2 separate regions of the Homo sapiens genome follow, and region 1 is linked to region 2. The links are contacts of gene promoters, found by promoter capture Hi-C in blood cells and fetal thymus (Javierre and others, 2016). All regions are on one chromosome and are shown on one strand. Each heading gives the region's core, a stretch centred on a gene start or on the middle of the fragment in contact. The rest is flanking DNA. Distances are from core to core; before and after follow the strand shown. Region 1 holds the start of ATRAID (all-trans retinoic acid induced differentiation factor). Region 2 overlaps LOC124905979 (a long non-coding RNA gene).

The links. Contacts are between HindIII fragments. The CHiCAGO score rates a contact against its expected background, and 5 or more counts as called.
Region 1: the fragment with the promoter of ATRAID here is called in contact with a fragment that was not itself captured in region 2 in 1 of 17 cell types (total B cells); the score reaches 6.4 in total B cells.

Annotation. Positions count from the first base shown.
Region 1 is chr2:27,210,450-27,213,544 of GRCh38, reverse strand. It overlaps ATRAID (all-trans retinoic acid induced differentiation factor), which reads right to left and starts at 1,504. Exons shown (of 7, transcript NM_001170795.4): 1 at 1,078-1,504; 2 at 247-368. The coding sequence starts at 1,176. It overlaps SLC5A6 (solute carrier family 5 member 6), which reads left to right and starts at 1,277. Exons shown (of 17, transcript NM_021095.4): 1 at 1,277-1,525; 2 at 2,012-2,078. RefSeq lists silencers at 1,081-1,330, 1,521-1,840 and an enhancer at 2,623-3,095. The HindIII fragment of the contact is 10,416 bases long and covers 1-3,095 here.
Region 2 is chr2:26,953,983-26,957,326 of GRCh38, reverse strand. LOC124905979 (a long non-coding RNA gene) reads left to right here. Exons shown (of 3, transcript XR_007086251.1): 2 at 1,993-2,037. Among named protein-coding and RNA genes, the nearest start is that of MAPRE3, 15 kb to the left of the region's middle. The HindIII fragment of the contact is 269 bases long and covers 1,896-2,164 here.

The DNA.
Region 1 (3,095 bases), core at 255-2,754, 260 kb before region 2:
CATTTTGAGTTTGAAGTTAGGGTGCACTCAGTAGGAAATGCTTAATAGGAAGCTAGAGGTACCCGTATGTACCTGGAGTGTGGAAAGGTTAAAAAAGACACTAAAGAGATCTAGTTTTGGTAGACATCTGCGTGATGATTACAGCTGAAACCATAATAGGTGGATTCTTTAAATAATATAAGGGTATAAAAGCAGCCAGGCTAAGGAATGGCCTGTATCCAGCATCTAGGGATGTCTTCCCCTCACCCCAAGATGGTGCCCTTCTGATTCAGGCAGCAACGGGCATGCAGCATTAGCTCTCGTGTCGTTTTACAATAAAAGGCCACTTTTGACAAATTTTGCACGCTCCCTGGACATTGGGTGCATATCTGCAGAAGAGAAAGAAACATTAGAACTCCAGAAAGAAAAGCCAAGAAAAGAACAAACGGCGATCAAGAATTAACTGCCAGTACACGTTTCCAGAATTCCTCTAACACGGGGCCGATAAATGGATAAACGGCTCGTGTCCCACCCTTGTAACAGGCTAGGCTAGGAGATGCCATCTCTTCCTCCAGAGTCCTGCGCCGAATCAGCTCCCGACACTTTCAGTACCAGATATCGCACAGGGAAGGTCCTCATCTCTGAAGATCACTATTCGAACTTATTTATTATGCTTTCTGCAGAGACTTCTCAATCTGACAGCCCTAGTTTGGCGCGGTGTAAAACGACCGCAGGTACGTAAAGAACTCATCAAGCATTACAAAAGTACAGCCCTACCACCGCACGATATATGGCGTTCGTGCGTAGAGAGATTACACAAGAGGCAGAGGACCCGTCTGTAGAAAGAACTTAAAGTTATTCTAAAATTAAGGGGCGAAATCAAGTTTCACAGGTCTTTGAAAGTCGGCAGGACTGGGGCGCCGAAGGCCTGCACGACGTGAGTACTTGGGAACAGGACCTGGCTGGGCAGGGTCGGGAAGCGTCAGGGACGAAATCAGAACCGCAGGCCCGCCGAGGAGAAGGGGGAGCCGCTGGCGAGCGCGACGCACGGCTGGCCAGCGACCCTGCTTCAGCCCGACCTCAAACTTGCTTCTGTACCTCGGGTAGCGCCAGAGCCCTTTCCACGCCCAGAGCGAGGAGCAGGGCGGCAGCCCAGGGCACCAGGGTCGTAAGACTACCCGGGTCGTGAGGCGCCATTTTCCGTTCCCTTGGTGCTCCGCTGCTCGCGCGACCCGGCCCCGCGGCCCCGCCCCGCAGCGCGTCAGGCCCTCTTCCCCGGGCGTGGCCTAAGCGGCCCGGTCCAGTCGCCCTGGGGCTGCTTGGGGGCTTTTCCTGCTCGTGGAGCTCTGCGCTGGTCTTCATGCGCCCTAGCCCTCTTTCGGGGATACTGGCCGACCCCCTCTTCCTTTTCCCCTTTAGTGAAGGCCTCCCCCGTCGCCGCGCGGCTTCCCGGAGCCGACTGCAGACTCCCTCAGCCCGGTGTTCCCCGCGTCCGGACGCCGAGGTCGCGGCTTCGCAGAAACTCGGGCCCCTCCATCCGCCCTCAGTAAACATGGCGGCACGGCGAGCGGGGCGGGCAGGGGGCGGGCAGGGGGCGGGGCCCCCGCGGGCTCCCGGCCAGGGCTCTCGGCCGGGCTCTGGCTACCCACGTGTGGAGACCGGGCAGGTGGGCCTGGAGAGCGTGAGCCGGTGCCGAGAGGCACCGGGGAGCGGCGTCTGAGCCGGGGCGGGGACAAGGGGGCGGGGAGGGGCGGAGCGAGCCGGCCTCCGGCGTGGGTCTGAGATCTTAAGTGCGAGCGGTAAGGTGGTGGTCTCCGCCGCGTAGAGGGAAGCGGGAAACCGAGAAAGAACGAGGGTGAGGGTGATGAGGGAAGGGCAAACCTCAAACTCCAGCGGGAGGACACGAGCCTGGATCGCCCCGGGCACCTAGTCCTCTTCACCTCAATGCTGATAGCGCATAGCGTCCCGGAGCCTGGCGAGGAGGTAGGAGCGGGATAGACGCTTCCCTAACTCATTTTCTTTGCCTTCCCAGGAAAAGGGAGCGATGTTGATCTCAGGAAGCACAAAGGGACCTTCCTAGCTCTGACTGAACCACGGAGGTAAGGGAGTGCGTTGCTGCCCCAGGGTGGGCCAGCGCCCTGACTGAAGGGCGCCAGGGGATCCCTGCTCCCGGCGCGACAGTGTTGGTTAGGGCCAGCCAGAAAGCTCCTTAAAGCCGACCCAAGTGATCATCTCGAGTAGCCGAGCCAGGCTTCCCTTCCACATTACCCCCATGGTGTCTGCCTGGAAGTTCCTGAAAGGTTTACGTTTAGCTGGCTGGCAAATTTTCTAAGGTGTTAGTAGCTATTAGCATTTTAAGGAGGGCCCCCAAAGCCTTTCACACCTTGAGGAATTATAGGCCCCAGGACAGATTTTGAGGGAATCTTTTTGGAACAGTTAGTCCTGCAGTGGTCTCATTGCCTTTTGTAGGAGTCAATGCGATCCACTGCAGTGTGTGACCAAAGTGAGTTCAGGTTTTTATTTTTATTTTTATTTTTATTTTGAGACGGAGTCTCGCTCTGTCGCCCAGGCTGGAGTGCAGTGGCGCGATCTCGGCTCACTGCAAGCTCCGCCTCGCGGGTTCACGCCATTCTCCTGCCTCAACCTCCCGAGTAGCTGGGACTACAGGCGCCTGCCACCACGCCTGGCTAATTTTTTGTATTTTTTAGTAGAGACGGGGTTTCACCGTGTTAGCCAGGATGGTCTCGATCTCCTGACCTCGTGATCTGCCCGCCTCGGCCTCCCAAAGTGCTGGGATTACAGGCAGTGATGTGGGACCCCTTTTAAAAACCTGAACTTGGCCTGGCGCGGTGGCCAGGCCACCGATCCGCCAAGGCAGGTGGATCGTCATGTCAGGAGTTTTGAGACCAGCCTGGCCAATATGGTGAAATCTCGTCTCTACTAAAAATACAAAAAAAAAAAAAAAAAATTAGCTGGGCGCGGTAGCACATGCCTGTAGTCCCAGCTACTCAGGAGGCTGAGGCAGAAGAATCACTTGAACCCAGGAGGTGGAGGTTGCAGTGAGCCGAGATCGTGTCACTGCACTCCAGCCTGGGCGACAGAGCGAGACTCCGTCT
Region 2 (3,344 bases), core at 781-3,280:
ACTTGTATTTTTCCTTAATGGTTTCTTGATGTTGTGGTTTATGTCTAATTTCATTGCAATGCGAGCAGAGAACAAAGTCTGTGAAATATTAATACTTTGGAATTTTTTGAAACCTGCTTTGTGGTTTAGTAAATGGTCAATTTTTATAATATAATTCTTTTATTGTGGTAAAAGACATGTATTGGCTGGGGGTGGTGGCTCATGCCTGTAATCCCAGTACTTTGGGAGGCCGAGACAGGTGGATTGCTTGAGGTCAGGAGTTTGAGACCATCCTGGCTAACATGGGGAAACCCCGTCTCTACTAAAAATTAGCCGGGCGAGGTGGCACATGCCTGTAGTCCCAGCTACTCGGGAGGCTGAGGCAGGAGAATTGCTTGAACCCAGGAGGCGGAGGTTGCGGTGAGCGGAGATCATGCCGCTGCACTCCAGCCTGGGCGACAGAGAGAGACTCCGTCAAAAAAAAAAAAAAAGAAAGAAAGAAAGAAAGAAAGCCTGGCTGCTGGAAAATTGAAGTTTGAAGAAGCCTCAGCAACTCCCACATGTGGTGGCTAGTCCTAAAATACCAGTGATGGAGCCTCCAGCTTTCCTCTTCTGTGCACGCCAGGAACCCTTCTGTCAGATGCGTGCAAGATGGGAAGGGGCCGTCAAAGCACTGCCACTGAAGTTTCCTTCCCTTTAGGACTCAAAATGCCCACCGTCCTCCCCAAGAGAAGTTGTTCTCCAGCAGCTCTGATTCCTCAGCAGTAAAGGAATCAAAGTCTATCCCCGGGGGCAGTCTATTTTACTGAAATTAACCCCTGCAGTGTCTTGAAACTTGGCATCATTGGGGACTGATCAAAAGACAATAACTCTCTTCAGGGTAAACTTAGACTGTAAAACTTCAGAGGATTTTTTTTTTGAGACGGTGTTCACTCTGTCACTAGGCTGGAGTGCAATGGCATGGTCTCAGCTCACTGCAACCTCCGCCTCCTGGGTTCCATCGATTCTCCCACCTCAGCCTCCTGAGTAGCTGGGACTACAGGCGTGTGCCACCACGGCTGGCTAATTTTTGTATTTTTAGTAGAGACGGGGTTTCACTATGTTGGCCAGGCTGGTCTGGAACTCCTGACCTCGTGATCCGCCCGTCTCAGCCTCCCAAAGTGCTGAGATTACAGGCATGAGCCACTGCGCCCGGCCCAGAGGATATTTTAAAATCAAGAATTCCAGTAAAATGAGGCATAGTGGCTCACGCCTGTAATCCCAACACTTTGGGAGGCCAAGGCGGGAGGATCGCTTGAGCATGGGAGTTCTAGACCAGCTTGGGCAACATAGGGAGACCCTGTCTCTACTATAAAATTGAAAAATTAGCTGGGAGTGATGGTGCATGCCTGTGGTCCCAGCTACTCTGGAAGCTGAGGCGGGAGGATCGACTGAGCCCAGAAGGTCGGGGCTGCAGTGAGAGGTGATTGCACCACTGCACTCCAGCCTGGGTAACAGTGGCAGACCCTGTATCCAAAAGAAAAAAAATTCCAATAAAGCAAGAGGCACTGAGCAGATGATGAAATTTAAATATGCATAATTGTAAGCAACTGTTTTCAGTGTGAAGCGATCTTTTTTCCCCCTCGAGGTGATAAATTAATGCAGAATGTGAAATCAGGAATTTTGGATATTGCATAAATGATTTCAATGAGAATTTGAGTTTCATGGCTAGAAATATTCCAAAAGGAAAAAAAATTTGAGTTTCTGCACTAAAGCTAATAGCTAAAGCTTTTTGTAAATGTGATGTCAAATGTGGGATTTTGATAGCAGTATAGGATATTGCTACTGAAATGCATCACAGTTGGAAAAATGTGTGCTTTATCAATTTGTTCAATAAAACTCACATAATCTGAAGTTATGTAAATCAATAGAAAGCTTCAACAGCTTTCTGGATAGCATTAAAATAATAAATTATACTTTCTTAACAGTTGCTTATTAATTTTACCTGGTTAGTCTCTGTTTTTCTTTTCCTAGAATTTCAGATTGGATTTTGGAAGTTTGGACTTAAATAGCTTTAAGGTAATGGACACTTGTTATTCAAAGGCTTCACAAAGTTGGTTATGTAGTTAAACTGAGCCTCTCTGTGTGTCTGCATGTAAATGCGTGTGTGTGTGTGTGTGTGTGTGTAAATCCCTAAATTAAAGCTTAAATTTTGACCCATGAGTCAAGAGGATTTCAGATAAAACCTCAAGAGCTCGTATTTATGTGAATATTTCTTGTTACTGCTATCTTTGTGTCTTTGTGCCCCACAGGCAAATAGTCTTTTTTTTTTTCTTTTTTTTTAGGCGGAGTCTCACTCTGTTACCCAGGCTGGAGTGCAGTGGCGCAATCTCCGCTCATTGCAGCCTCTTCCTCCTGGGTTCAAGCGATCCTCCCACCTCAGCCTCCCAGGTAGCTGGGATTACAGGTTTGCACCACCATACCCAGATAATTTTTTTGTATTTTTAGTGGAGACAGGGTTTCACCATGTTAGCCAGGCTGGTCTTCAACTCCTGACCTCAAGTGATCTGCCCACCTTGGCCTCCCAAAGTGCTGGGATTACAGGTGTGAGCCACCACGTCTGGCCAAAAGTCTTACAACTGATACTGAATTTCAAAAAATTCCTAACTGCGAGAATCATCTAGCAAACACCGGAAAAACTTAGTATAGCAATACAAACCATATTTAGTTGCTTAAAGAAGTCACATACTGTAAAAAGAGAAGCTTTTAGCTCATAAAAGGGAACCATATAAATTTGAAAAGGTAGATCCGACTTTAGCCAGGTGATCAAAGTCAACATCATCAGTAATAGGTCATTTTCATAGTATATACCCTTGATGCGACGTGAGGAAAACGGCACCTTGCTTTTATGGTCTTCCTTTTAAAAACTCTTAACACCAGCCTAACCATTTAGAAAAACAACAGACAAATTCCAGTAGAGAGTATTCTATAAAATCTCTGAACAATATTTCTCAAAACTTGTCAAGGTCATCAAAAACAAGGGAAGTCTGAGAAACTGTCACAGTCCACAGAGCCTCAGGAGACATGACAACTAAATGTAATGTGGTGTCCTGGAGGAGATCCTGGATCAGAAAAGGGACATTCGATAAAAACTTAGGAAATCTGAATAGGCATGGACTTTAATTAATGATAATGTATCAGTGTTGGCTCACTGATTTTAACATGCTAATGTAGGATGTTAGTAATAGGGGAGGCCGGGTGTGGAGTAGATGGAAACTCCGCACTATCTGTGCAGCTGTAAATCAGACTTTTCTAAAAAATAGTCAATTTAAAAAAAGCTACACAGGGATAGAATGTGTTGCTTTAAATGTAAGGAAACCTTAAAA